Linked DNA regions of Homo sapiens: regions 1, 3, 4 and 5 are each linked to region 2. Evidence: promoter capture Hi-C in human tissues and cell types (Jung and others, 2019). All regions are on one chromosome and are shown on one strand. The core of a region is centred on a gene start or on the middle of the fragment in contact, and the rest is flanking DNA. Distances in the headings are between cores, read along the strand shown. Region 1 overlaps TPTEP2-CSNK1E (TPTEP2-CSNK1E readthrough). Region 2 holds the start of SLC16A8 (solute carrier family 16 member 8). Region 3 overlaps DMC1 (DNA meiotic recombinase 1). Region 4 overlaps TPTEP2-CSNK1E (TPTEP2-CSNK1E readthrough). Region 5 overlaps TPTEP2-CSNK1E (TPTEP2-CSNK1E readthrough).

Evidence for each region. Contacts are between HindIII fragments. The study calls those that stand out against the background at their distance.
Region 1: a contact is called between a fragment that was not itself captured here and the fragment with the promoter of SLC16A8 in region 2, in 1 of the 25 tissues and cell types used here (spleen).
Region 3: a fragment that was not itself captured here is called in contact with the fragment with the promoter of SLC16A8 in region 2 in 2 of the 25 tissues and cell types used here (dorsolateral prefrontal cortex and lymphoblastoid cells).
Region 4: a fragment that was not itself captured here is called in contact with the fragment with the promoter of SLC16A8 in region 2 in 1 of the 25 tissues and cell types used here (dorsolateral prefrontal cortex).
Region 5: a contact is called between a fragment that was not itself captured here and the fragment with the promoter of SLC16A8 in region 2, in 1 of the 25 tissues and cell types used here (dorsolateral prefrontal cortex).

The regions. Positions count from the first base shown.
Region 1 is chr22:38,367,188-38,369,887 of GRCh38, reverse strand. All of the region lies in intron 3 of TPTEP2-CSNK1E (TPTEP2-CSNK1E readthrough), which reads left to right. It also overlaps the pseudogene TPTEP2. Among named protein-coding and RNA genes, the nearest start is that of TPTEP2-CSNK1E, 30 kb to the left of the region's middle. The HindIII fragment of the contact is 7,743 bases long and covers 1-2,700 here.
Region 2 is chr22:38,082,894-38,085,593 of GRCh38, reverse strand. SLC16A8 (solute carrier family 16 member 8) reads left to right here and starts at 1,410. Exons shown (of 6, transcript NM_013356.3): 1 at 1,410-1,606; 2 at 2,233-2,552. It overlaps BAIAP2L2 (BAR/IMD domain containing adaptor protein 2 like 2), which reads left to right. Exons shown (of 14, transcript NM_025045.6): 14 at 219-694. The coding sequence ends at 294. RefSeq lists an enhancer at 1,145-1,926. The HindIII fragment of the contact is 9,296 bases long and covers 1-2,700 here.
Region 3 is chr22:38,539,714-38,542,413 of GRCh38, reverse strand. All of the region lies in intron 8 of DMC1 (DNA meiotic recombinase 1), which reads left to right. Among named protein-coding and RNA genes, the nearest start is that of DMC1, 29 kb to the left of the region's middle. The HindIII fragment of the contact is 5,470 bases long and covers 1-2,700 here.
Region 4 is chr22:38,343,320-38,346,019 of GRCh38, reverse strand. All of the region lies in intron 4 of TPTEP2-CSNK1E (TPTEP2-CSNK1E readthrough), which reads left to right. It also overlaps the pseudogene TPTEP2. Among named protein-coding and RNA genes, the nearest start is that of CSNK1E, 27 kb to the right of the region's middle. RefSeq lists an enhancer at 1,013-1,512. The HindIII fragment of the contact is 5,046 bases long and covers 1-2,700 here.
Region 5 is chr22:38,392,948-38,395,647 of GRCh38, reverse strand. The region is part of intron 1 of TPTEP2-CSNK1E (TPTEP2-CSNK1E readthrough); the gene reads left to right. It also overlaps the pseudogene TPTEP2. Among named protein-coding and RNA genes, the nearest start is that of TPTEP2-CSNK1E, 4.6 kb to the left of the region's middle. The HindIII fragment of the contact is 3,049 bases long and covers 1-2,700 here.

The DNA of each region.
Region 1 (2,700 bases), core at 136-2,635, 280 kb before region 2:
GAAAGATATCAAAATGTATGGGTGGGAGGGTACACCGTATTTACTCCAGTTGAATTCTTAGACAAGTATTATTTTGAAAAAAAATTCCATCCATTCAGAAATAAATGTTCTTCTAGCTTGAAAATGTAAAAAGTATTCTTAGAGGAAATTAATTCCATTAAAAGTTTTTTTAAAAAAAACAGGAATGCAGAATGCTACTTAACTCATCAATAGTGAACGTTTCTCATTTTTACTGGATATGGTGTGATTCCCAATTTTGTAGATTTTGCCTATGAGCAAATAGTATTGATAGCAAAAGCAAACATATTTTGCTGACTAAAGACCTCTTTATGCTCATTGGGATTTTATTCTTATTTGTTTCTAATCTCACTAGAGTACTTCCTGTTGCACTGACCTGAAGGCATTTTATCATGTACTTACTGTAATGAAACAATACATTCTTAAACTGGCTTGTGTCTGAACTGCAGACATATTCAGGAGATTTTTCTTCTGCTTCTTTCTTGCCCAGTTGTATAACCATTCACCAGCTTGTGTCAATGCTGGAGAGGAAGTACGGCCATAGAGGAAGTTAACTCACCATGGTTGTAAGCTGTTGGTGTCTAAACAAAGATTGGAAACAAAGAGGGCAAATACAAGTAGTTCTTCAAATTACCCTGAATTTGCCACTGAATTAAACTGTGTGTCTGCAGATTAGCTATACGTTTTCTGTAATGGAGCTGCCCAGGGCTGAAACAAAATTAGATTAAGCAAGGCAAGCATTTCCTTCTTTCCTGACTCCAAACAAAATAAAGCAGGTTTTCATTTTATTTTATTTTTAAATTACAAAGTCTCATTACGTAGATATAGGAGGAATTTGCAATAGTCCCTGTGAGAAATGCTGGTGTTTCATACCAGGGGGATGATACTGGATTTATAGTAAAAGCTGGAATCAGTGCTTGGCTTTGGCATATCATATATTCATTCACCTGATACTCAGCAAGTCACTAACCCTCTTTAACTTTCAGATTATTCAAATGTAAACTGGCTATAATGCAATCTATGTACTGGATATTGTATTGTAAAAAATTAGTAATAAAACGAAAATAACATGCAAAAATACTTCGAAAACTCTGTAGATCTGTAAATAGGTTTTATTCTAAAAACTGAAAATAACGTAAGAGGTCATTAAAGGAAAATCAGAAAATACAATCAACAAATCTACCCACATATAGTCATTCTTAAGCTTTGATGCATGCACTTCTAAGTTCTTCAAGCATATACTTTTTTTGTTTACAGATATGAGACCATACTTATTCTTTTGTAAATAACCTTATTAATGACATCATTTTTTTTGTTAATATATATTCATGTGCACTTACAACATTATTTGTAACAGTTGTGTGATATTTCATGGTGTAGATGTGCTATATATAATTTATTTAATAGTCAGATATTGCTGAACAATTAAGTTTTTTACAAGTTTTTAACTGTTACAAAAATGAATATATTTGAGGCTAAATCTCTGTATATTGTTGGTTATTTGCTTGTTATAAATTCTCAGAAGTGGAAATTCTGTGTCAAAGGGAATGATTGTGACGCTATTGATACTGATATGTGCTTTAACATCAAGATGCAAAGTGTACATTTCTCCCCTCCCACACTTAACACTAGCCATCATTGATTTCTCTGATATTAGTAAATATATTTGTTCTAATGCACGTTCTTTGACACACCTTCATTTATCCTTTTCTGTCTTTGGACTGAAAAGTTAAATCTATTGATCCTTTTTCTATTTTATGTAATATAAGCAATTTCTCCCAGGTTGTCTTGCTTTTCACTATATAAAAGCATTTCATCCTCATGTAATCAAATGTATCTGTACTTTTCTTTGTGATTTTGCCTTTAATGTTATTCTCAGAAAGTCCTTCTTACCCCAAGATTTTAAACATATTCACCAAAATTTCTGTTTTGAATTTATTTTCTTCATTTAAATAAAATATCTGCCCTGAATTTACTTTGTCTTAAGGTATAAAGTGTAGAAATTTACTTTTCTCCTAAGTGACTCATAGTTTTTTCAGCATGAACATGTCATCCCCCTGTATTGTCCTTACCCTGTTTTAGTGATCTAGAGGGAGCAGGAAGACCAGAGTCACTACAGTGTTTTTCGTGCTTTTCATCATGGCCACCTCCCTACCCCCAGAGTCTGCACAAGAGAAAAATGTGTCCAGTGGGAGAGATAGCACCTGCCTTCAATACAAATCCCATTTCATTAAACATGGTCTTGTTAGTGTCATGTAGCTTCCACCTTCTATTGATAAAAAATGAGTCATGTTCATAGTTAATATTTTTGCTTTTAATTCAACTTTGATATTAATATTGGAACTTTTAAGTGTTTTAAGGTTTAGTATCTCATATCTTTTTTTCTCTCTCTTTTTTTTTTTTTGAGCCGGAGTCTCGCTCTGTCACCAGGCTGGAGTGCAGTGGCGCCACTCAGCTCACTGCAACCTCCGCTTCCCAGGTTCAAGTGATTCTCCTGCCTCAGCCTCGTGAGTAGCTGGGACTACAGGCACGCACCACCACGCCCAGCTAATTTTTTGTATTTTTAGTAGAGATGGAGTTTCACCATGTTGGCCAGGATAGTCTCGATCTCTTGACCTCATGATCCACCCACCTTGGCCACCCAAAGTGCTGGGATTACAGGCGTGAGCCACCGTGCCTGGC
Region 2 (2,700 bases), core at 161-2,660:
GAGGATCTCTTGATTCCAACAGTTCAACATCAGCTTGAGCAACACTGTGAGACCCTATCTCTTAAAAGAAAAAAAAAGATGAAGCGGGGCAAGGAGTGGATGGAGACCAAATAGGGGCAGGAGGCAGGACCCAGCTCAGTTGCCCAGCTGCCTTCCTGAGCCATGGCCAGGTGGGGATCATCTGCCCTTCTCACCCCATTCTCTCTCTCCTCCTACAGGGGCACAAATCCTTTTGCCACTGTCAAGCTTCGTCCCACCATCACCAATGACCGCTCAGCACCCCTCATCCGCTGAGGCGGGGTCCGAGGTCGTACCCCACAGTGCACCTGCCCAGGGGCTGTTCAGAGCTGGCAATGGCAGCGACAGCAGCAACAGCAGCAGATCCAAGAAGCGGGTCCCTGAGACGGGGGGTGGCTGCCCTCCCCAGACCACCCCGGCAGCCTGAGCAGCTCCAAAGCACTGGCTTGGGGTCCGAGACCTTCAAAGTAAAGCAGGCGGAATGGGGGGACAGGACAATTTCTCCCCCTCCAGGGGCTCCAGGACTCTCCCTGGGGGGCCCACCTCTTGCCCCCTAACCTCTTTCCCCCTTTTCTGCCCCCGTGGGGAGGAGCCCCTTGTACCTGCTCCGTGCCCAACACATGCCCTCTCTGTACATCTTTTGTAAATGATGAGAAATAAAGGAAGTGGACGCAAAGTGATGCGGCAGCAGGACTGGTGGTGTCTTATTTGGGGGACAGGGCAGGGGGTGAGGGATAGAGACTCCCCCATTGGAGAATGGGGTCTAGGGGGTACTGAGGTCCTGGCTGTTCCCCGGGAAGCCATCTCACTCCCAGCCCCTTGTTTGTTTGTTTGGAGAACTCTTTAGGGCTGCCCCAAAGCCCTCGCGCTGCAGCCCCCATCTCCACCTGCTCTCATTTCGACCTGTGGGTTTCCTAGGAAGTAGCGGCTGCTCGGGTCAGGGGAGAGGTGGCAGTGGCCAAGGGCTGGGACCACCAGCAAGCTGCCCTCAGGCGGCCTGGACACAGCACCCTTTGTTTTGGCCCCTCCCCCCCCCACATTCCCAGGCACAGGCGTGGATTAGCTTCATTCTAGAGAAAGCTGCCAGCCCCTCCTGGAATGTGGCCTGGGGCGGGGGGTTGGGGCGGGGGCAGATGAGGCACTGAGGTGATTAGAACCGTTGGGGTCTCTTCAGGGCAGGGCTGTGCCCCCAGCACCAGACTAGGACCCCCTGGGCAAGGTCTCTGTGTCTACCACCCCAGGCTCCAGGAGGCACAGGGATTCTCTTCCTCCCTCCTGGACTGGCTTGGGACAGGGAGCCCACCGCCGAGGCCCAGCCTGGCCTGGGGCTCCCAGTCTCTTCTCCCCTCCTGGACAAAAGCCTCTTAGCAGGGGTGAGGTGTGGTGGGGGCACACACTCTAAGCTCCAGGCCTGGGGCAGGGAGCGTCAGGCGGGAGTCGGCCAGAGGCTCAGCCCAGGCTGGTGGGAAGCTGGGGTGTCTGGCAGCCCCCATCCGGGTAAGCTTCACCGGGAGCTGCGGCGGCGGCCCCTCCCTGCAGGCCTCAGGAGATGTGAGGCTGGACCCCCAAACCCACGAGGCAGGCTCAGGTGAGTGTGATGTGAGGGCTGCCTGGGATCACCCTCCTGTCTCCACCTTCAAGTGGCTGCCCCTGTGACAAGAGGACAACAGGCAGGAAAAGCCACAACCTGGTCCTAGTGGAGGAGGGGCAGAGTCCCGGATACCCTGGGGGTGGTGGCACTGCCCAGTGCCAGGAGGGACACTCCAGGCAGGAGGGCAGGAGGCTATCCCCAGCCCCCGGCTCCTGGTGCACCTGTCTCTGAGTACACCCTCCTCATCTGTTATGGGGGCGCTTGTAACTGCTGTGAGGGCCCCGGGTGGAGCCCCAGGAATGAGACAGGCTTTGGAGCCATTCTTTTCATATAGAGGGTTTGAGGTTTGGAGGGCAGAAGGCCACTCTCTCAGTGCTGCTAAGGTTCCTACCTGTCTGGCAGAAGCCAGAGACCTGACTCCTCTCCCGCAAGATTCCCAGCTGGCCTCGGGGTGATCAATCACCCATCTTACATCGGAGGAAAGGGAGGTTGGGAGAGGGGAGGCGACCGGCCCAAGTCAGGGAGGGAATCCATGGCTGAGCTGAGATGCATGGGAACTCAGCTCCCCTGGCTGATATCTGTTGAAAGTGGCTTTTGTCCCCTTAATGTTCTAATGACAATAGTCATTTGTGATCACTGAGAAACATTAGGAACATGGCGGAAGGCTAAAGAGGAAAATCACGCACAGCGGCCCTTTGCAGCCGGCATCTGCCCCTCTGCTGTTTGTTCTGTTGTCCCGAGACCCTCACGCGTACGGGGCGACTTTGGTGCTGGACGCCCACCTCCAGGCACATACCTGCTCCACTTCCCGACGCCTTCCACCTGAGGCCCTGAGGGGCCAGCAGTTGTCCTTCAGAGGGAGCCTGCAGAGGTGCAGAGTCAGGTGGGACCCGTCGTCCTCCCCTCGTCCTTCAGCGCCCTTTGCAGGAGAAGGAGACTTGGGGTGAGAGTCCTACCTCCGTTTCCCCTTTTGGTTCCCAGACCTGAGCCACCCTCACGTGGGTAGCCCTGTGCCTCAGTTTCCCCATGCTTCGTCTCCATCCCCCTCCTTCTCTAGGCTGCTGGCCCAGCCCCTCCCTCTTGTCCCCGCC
Region 3 (2,700 bases), core at 48-2,547, 460 kb before region 2:
TTCCCTGTCGGTATTTAGAAATGCTGCTGATTTTTGTATGTTGATTTTGTATCCTGCAACTTTACTGAATTTGTTTATCAGTTCTAATAGCTTTTTGGTGGAGTCTGGGTTTTTCCAAACATAAGATCTTATTATCAGCAAACAAGGATAATTTGACTTCCTCCTTTTCAATCTGGATGACCTTTATTTATTTCTCTTGTCTGATTGCTCTAGCTAGGACTTTGAGAATTATGTTGAATAACAGTGGTGAAAGTGGGCATACTTGTTCCAGATCTTAGAGGAAAGACTTTCAGTTTTTCCCCATCTAGTATGATACTAGCTGTGGGTCTGTTGTGTATGGTTTTTATGTTGGGTTATGTTCCTTCTATACCCAATTTTTTGAGGGTTTTTTTTTTATCATAAATGAACGTTGAATTTTATCAAATGCTTTTTTCAGCATCAATTGAAATGATCATATGTTTTTTGTCCGTTCTGTTGATATATCACATTGATTTGTATATGTTGAACCATCCTTGCATCCCTGAGACGAATCCTACTTGGTCATGATGAATGATCTGTTTAATGTATTGTTGAATTTGGTTTGCTAGTATTTTGTTGAGGATTTAAGCCCAAGTTTTACACCCGCGGTCACATTGTTCCCAGACCAAACTGAGGATCAGGCTGCTTATTCTTATGGCCCAATAATGAGATGCAAATGAACTGGGAAAGGAGGGAGTTTTTGTTTCCGTAACCGGTTACAGGGAGAAGACCTGGAAAATAACACCAGACCAACTCAAAATTACAAAGTCTTCCAGAACTTATATACCTTCTCAGCTATATGTTTATTGTAAGTGTGCATTCATCTAACGACATAAGTCACTTTGAGAGGCCGAGGTGGGTGGAACACTTGAAGTCAGGAGTTCAAGACCATCCTGGCCAACATGGCGAAACCTTGTCTCTACTAAAAATACAAAAATTAGCTGGGCATGGTGGCACACGCCTGTAGTCCCAGCTACTCAGGATGCTCAGGCAAGAGAATCACTTGAACCAGGGAGGCAGAGGTTGCAGTGAGCCGAGATTGTGCCACTGGACTCCAGCCTGAGCAACAGAGTGAGACTCCATCTCAAAAAAATAAAATAAAAATTTTTAAAAATATATAAGTGATTAACTTCTTTTGATCTATAACTAAGATCTGAGTCCTAAAGACATTCCTCTGGAGCCTCAGTAAATTTACTTAATCTAAATGGGTCCAGGTGCTGGGGTGATTACCCTTATCTTATCTCCTGCTAAATCATGGAGGTTTGGGGAGTTCCTTCAGACCCCCAATAACTTGTTTGTGGAGACCTAGGGAGTTTCTTCAGGCCCCCAGTAAAACTCGTTTAATCCTAAACAGGTACTGTTAAGAATTTCTTCATTATCTTGTCATGCTTCAAGGCCCAGGAAAGGCCTGGGCAAAACTCTTGGTGGCCTTTTGTTACATTCCAGCCTTTGTATAAGGGCACTTTCAGCTTTTAATATTTAACTTAACCACTCAGTCAGTGCTGAAACAGTTGTTATGGAGGCCTGCATTAGTAAGACCTGGCCTGCCACAACATAGTATCTGGGATTTGTAGAAACCGACATGATGAAAATGTTTTTATTGCCTCTTCCAATTCCCTGTCTAACTTGTCCACCAAAAACATCTACTGGGTATACTCAATAACAATGGAAGATTTTTGTGGCTGTCACCAAAGCTCTAACAACAAGAACATATCTAGTGCATTAGGATATAAATGGCTGGGAATTTAAATTAATTGCAAACATCACAAATAAGATTATAAATGGTCCTTGATTTACAGTTACTTATACTGGGATCAGTGTTATGTAAACACTATAAACAAAGTGAAATAAGGTTACAAACATGCATTTAATTTTACCTCATTTTACTTCAGACATATTGTTGGGATCACCAAAGACCTAAAAAAAATGTTTATTACTCCTTTATAGTTTATAGGTATAAGTGATTATTAGCTTCTTCCAGAATACTTTTGCAGGTGCACTTAGTTTGCTTCCCTATGAATTTGCTAATTTCAGAAAGCTAACAACTCCTGGCTAGGCATGGTGGCTCATGCCTGTAATCCTATCACTTTGGGAGGCCGAGGCAGGCATATCACTTGAGGTCAGTAGTTTGAAACCAGCCTGGCCAACATGGTGAAACCCCGTCTCCACTAAAAATACAAAAATTAGCTAGGTATGATGGCTCGCGCCTGTAATCACAGCTACTCAGGAGACTGAAGGAGGAGAAAACAAAAAAAAAGCTAACAACTCCTTTAGAAGAAAGTAGATTTTAAACTGTATATACTTTCCAGGTAAGATTTGAAAAGAAAAAGAAAACCTATGCCAACAAAAAACCTTTGGTCGATATTTCTCTTCTGGGCCCTTGAAGTTACCTTTTTGACCCTTTGGTTCATGTAGTCAAATTTATCATTTAACAACATGTGATTAATAATATAATAAACTATTTCATATTGAGGAATGAGGGGTATGAAGAGAGTGAATTAATTCACTTTGCAGTTATTGAATTATAATTCAGTGATATTATCTATTACAGGTCTATTTTTATAGATCTGAGAACAAAAGGACTCACAAAGCTTAGTTCCTAGTTTTTCTCTTGTAACTGATTTGCTGCATAAGCTCAAGTCATTTGCCTAATCTCTGTTTGCCAGTGTCTTACGTTGTAAA
Region 4 (2,700 bases), core at 12-2,511, 260 kb before region 2:
TTTCCACATCTGCAAACTGGAGAGGCAGCTGAGCATTCAATCAGGAAGCCAAGGGGAGCGCCCTCCCAAGGATGCCTGGTGGCAGGTCCCCTTCCCTCACCATTCTGCCATCACCCTGGGCCTTGTGGGAGAGGAGCCTGCAGATTCTGTTGACCCAGTTTCCTTCTCTGTAAAATGGGGAAATTGGTCATTTAATTTAATTCGATTTATGGAATGGAAAATATTTTCACAGACATCAAAATTCAAAAGTTGGGCGGGCACGGTGGCTCACCCCTGCAGTCCCAGCACTTTGAGGCTGAGGCAGGCAAATCGCCTGAGGTTAGGAGTTCGAGACCAGCCTGGCCAACATGGTGAAACCCCATCTCTACTAAAATACAAAAAATCAGCCGGGCGTGGTGGTGCACACCTGTAATCCCAGCTACTTGGGAGGCTGAGGCAGGAGAATCGCTTGAACCTGGGAGGCGGAGGTTGTAGTGAGCCAAGATCACACCACTGCACTCCAGCCTGGGCAACAGAGTGAGACCCTGTCTCAAAAAAAAAAAAGAAGTTACCAAAGAGGGTACAGTACAGTCTCCTTCCCTCTCAGTTTCCCTTCCACCCTGTCCCCAACCTTTGTATTTTCTTTCCTAGGAACAGTCTCTTACTATTCTTAGTCATTTTTATATTATATTATTAGTATTTTTCTTATTGATTTGTAACTGCTTTTTATATACTAAAGAAAGCATGGGCTGGGTGCGGTGGCTTACGCCTGTAATCCCAGCACTTTGGGAGGCCTTGGCGGGCGGATCACGAGGTCAGGAGACCAAGACCATCCTGGTTAACATGGTGAAACCCTGTCTCTACTAAAAATACAAAAAATTAGCCGGGTGTGGTGGAGGGCGCCTATAGTCCCAGCTACTCGGGAGGCTGAGGCAGGAGAATGGCGTGAACCCGGGAGGTGGAGCTTGCAGTGAGCCGAGATTGCGCCACTGCATTCTGGCCTGGGCAAAAGAGCGATACTCTGTCTCAAAAAAAAAAAAAAAAAAAAAAGCATGACTCGCAAATATTTTTCTTCTGGGCCCATCCAGAGATGCTGTATGTACATAGAAGCAAATACACATATATTTCAAGGGGCACTTTGAATCTAAGTTTGCTGGGGCTCTTTTCAAGTCAATGGTCCGGGTGAATCTCTGTGGTCTGAATCTTGAAGCTGGAGCTAGGACCAGAGCTGGGTGACCTCTCACCATTCTGGGCTGGGAACGACTCACCCTCAGTTCCATCTCTATCCGTTTATCTTAGGCCTTTGAGGGGAGGGACTGCACCTGAGTACAGCACCCAGGCGTCTTCTGCAGCCCACAGAAGGTTCAGCTTAGGGCTGGACGCAGTGGCTCACACCTGTAATCCAAGCACTTTGGGAGGCCGAGGCGGGCAGATCATCTGATGTTGGGAGTTCGAGACCAGCCTGACCAACATGGAGAAACTCCATCTCTACTAAAAATACAAAATTAGCCGGGCGTGGTGGTGCATGCCTGTAATCCCAGCTACTTGGGAGGCTGAGGCAGGAGAATCGCTTGAACCCGGGAGGCAGACGTTGCGGCGAGTCGAGATCTCACCATTGCGCTCCAGCCTGGGCAACAAGAGTGAAACTCTGTCTCAAAAGAAAAAAAAAGAAAAGAAAAGAAGAAGAAGAAGGTTCATCTTCAGACTCCTAGTCCAGAGCTCTCAGCAATCCTCATCTTGTAATGCTGTCTACAGACTCCAAGTATGCAATGGGCCAAGCCACACCCTCTCCCTCTTCCTCCTGCCCAAGGGCAGAGATTCATGGAAGGTTGTCTGTGATGAGGAATGGAGTCGTTGCCCCGGCCCAAATCGCACCCCAGGCCTGACTCAGTTGGTGGGCCTCTGCCTTTACTGCCTTGGCAAACTCCTACACATACTTGAAGGCCCAGCTGCAGTGAAGCTCCTCTGGGAAGACTTCGTGACTCCCATCCCTTCTCTCTTATGGCTCTGATCACCTTGTCCATGTCTACACTTACCAGAGCAAGAACCGTGTTTTCTGGTTTCTCGGTCCTCCAGGATCTCCCAACGTGAATTAGCAACCGATGCATCAAAGGTGGCACCTCGGCCGGGCACGGTGGCTCACGCCTGTAATCTCAGCACTTTGGGAGGCCGAGGTGGGCAGATCATGAGGTCAGGAGATCGAGACCATCCTGGCTAACATGGTGAAACTCCGTCTCTACTAAAAATATAAAAAAATTAGCCGGGCGTGGTGGCAGGTGCCTGTAGTCCCAGCTACTGGGGAGGCTGAGGCAGGAGAATGGCGTGAACCCGGGAGGCGGAGCTTGCAGTGAGCTGAGATTGGGCCACTGCACTCCAGCCTGGGCGACAGAGCAAGACTCCGTCTCAAAAAAAAAAAGGTGGCACCACCACCATTTTGGGGCCTCCTCAGTTTCCTCATTTGAAAAGGAGGAACATAATATAAGGCCAACCACAGAGGGTTGTTGAGAGGATTAAATGAGTCAGCTCATGAAAAGCCCTTAGAACAGTCCCAGGCGCAGAGCAAGGGCACAATGTGTAGTTGCTATCGATTATGACTAGTCTTGGGATCTTGAGCAAATCCCTTCTCTTCTTCGTGGCCTCCGTTTTTTGGTTTTTGTTTTTTGTTTGAGATGGAGTCTTGCTCTGTCACCCAGGCTGAAGTGCAGTGGCGCCATCTTGGCT
Region 5 (2,700 bases), core at 100-2,599, 310 kb before region 2:
TGTCCCACTCTTTTAATCCTTTTGTCTTCACATTTTTCTAACGCTTTGCAGTTTGACCTTTGCTGTTTTTTAATAACTTGTGAGATCGAAGTTTAGCAGTTGTGTTGGGTTCCTATTCCCTTTCACTTCTTACTCAAAAAAAGGAACTAATACACCACTTAGAAAAAATTTGTAGAAAACTTTTCTCCCCTTTACCCTGAGGAATCTATTTTGGTAACAGGTCAAAATTTTTTTCCACGTAGTAGGGGAGGAAGGAGGAGCAGTGAAGGTTTTGACTTTGACTGCCTTTACTTTTTTAAGGTGGGGGTAGATTTGCATTTTCTTTGTGAGCCTCCATTTTTGGCAGGAAAAGTTCAGGGAGGAGTAGGAGCCCCTAATCCCCTTCCAGTGGACTTGTTTTGGAGGAAATCTGAAAATAAGACTTAATCATCAAGTCACTTATAGACTGATGAAATAATTAAGGAATATAATGGCCTGGCAATGACTAAGTCGTTCTATCTCCTCATTGCAGGTACATGCTTATCACTTTTTTCTCTCTTAACAACGTTTATTATGAAATGGCATGTTTTCGCCACAGCAGGGTAGCCATTTCCCAACCCTGGAGCACTCTTAATTCTGAGATGCCTGATTAGAGCCTCAGGGGTCCCAAAAGATGTGCTGTTTTCCCACTTTATAAAATTACATTCTTTTCTCACAGTTGTCACAAACATGATATTGGTTGATAAGAACTTTGGAGTAGTTTTAATGACTCTTGACTGCCTGAAAGATGCCACTTTAAAAAAGGAGCTACTTTTAGCTGACTCTATTTGAAAGTAAATGATTGGACCCTTTTTATGTTTTATATGAAGCTTTGTTTCCATTTGCTTAAAAAAAAAAATTCAAATTGTCCCATTTCCTGTATGCCCATATGGCCTGTATGTTATAGATTTTGAGGTTGCTGGGTATGATTTGTTTTAAATGGTTCTTTCCTAATTTCCCATTTCAGTTTAATCCCTGAGCAGAATGTTTAATGAATGAATTGGGAAGGTGAAGCTGAAGGACTGAGCAATGGCTGTTTTCAAGCCTTAGAATTAGAAAGTAGGAATGAAAAACATGAGACAGTTGCATAAACTGAGTATTCCACTGATAAAATAAACGTAATAAGATTTTAAATCCAGTTCCTTCAATTGAAATCTAACAACAGAATAGTTTTTAGATTACTGGGATATTAAAAAATAAAAACCTGAAAGGTATTTACAGAACAGCTACCAACATGGAATTAAAGGAATCTCAATCTTGTTAAATATTCGAAAGAGTGAAGGGTTTGGTTACAGCATGTAAATTAAACTTGAGACAATGGCGGGTGGAGGGGTCTTGATCCGCACACCTCTTTTCCAGATTCTGCGGCGGGGAGGGGTGTTAAAATTAAAATGCACATGGAAGAAAAAAGTTTATTACACAAAGACGGCAGGAAATTTCTTGAATTCGGGTGAAGGAAGCCTGATTATTGAATATCACTTAATGGCCTCATTTTAGAGGCAGAATAAAAACTTTTCTGAAATGCTCATGTTTTTGGAGTAAGGTGAACTGGGTTATTTTTCCCCAACCAGTAATAACAGACAAATTTGCAGTGGTATCTGGGGCAAAGGTTTTTGAATTTAGACCACGAAGAGAGATAGAAATCTGACTTTAAGAAAGTGGAAGAACAGGGACCATTCTTTCCTAAAATCTGCAGCTCACGATGACATGCTCAATTATTGTACACATCTATCTTCCAGATAAATAGGGGGGAAGCCCCCGCTAGCCAGCTGCCGCCACATATTACCCTTTTATATTTAATGTTGGAATGCTTTCCATTTGAACATTTGTTGACTGACTGTTCTGAACATCTCCATTACTTCCTGCCCAGGGTATCAGCATAATTGAGTTACTGGAAATTTGGGGACAGTTTGGTAATTTTATGATAAAGTTGAGAAGTAAAATTACTAAACCTGAAAGGGCAGCTGAAGAAGTTGTATGAGAGAGTTAGTTGGATTCCTTACTTAGCCTTTGTTCTTATTAAGCTTTACAAAACTTGTTTCTGACCTCCACATGACTGTACTTCCTATAGAAAAGCTCCCCCAGACTCAGAAGCTAGGTTTTTAACAGACTCGTGTAGTGTTTCTGTATTGGTGTTCCATTATTTTCTGGTGTGTCTGGAAACCTTTGGAATTTAAAATGTAGTTAAATGGACTGGAAATGTAGACTCTAGACATTTCTTGAATCAGCATTAGGAATAATAGTTACTTTTACTTCTACCTCTATCAAATAAGGATAACATAAAGCATCTCAGTTATACTGAAGAAGTGTTTCTTTCTTTTGTAATCAATATAGAGTTTTTCTTCAGTTTATAAATCGACTGAACAATGATTGTATTATTAATTGAAAGGAGACTTTCCCCCTTGATTTTGAAAGCAAACAGGTGACTGGAAAGAGCCAGATATACAACTTTAGTATGTAGTCAGCAAAAGATAGGATGGGGAGGGGAATATTTAAATCTTGCAGAAGAATGATCTTATGCCTTAAAAGGCATTGCCTAAGCTTGTATTTAGCTAGGTTACTTGAATTGTGTTTAATTCAGAGCGCTCATTGGAAAAAGTGGTATGGTGTACTGGTCTAGTAGTGGGTATAGTTATTTGTGTGTGTATATATATATAGATAGATGTGTGTATACACACGTTC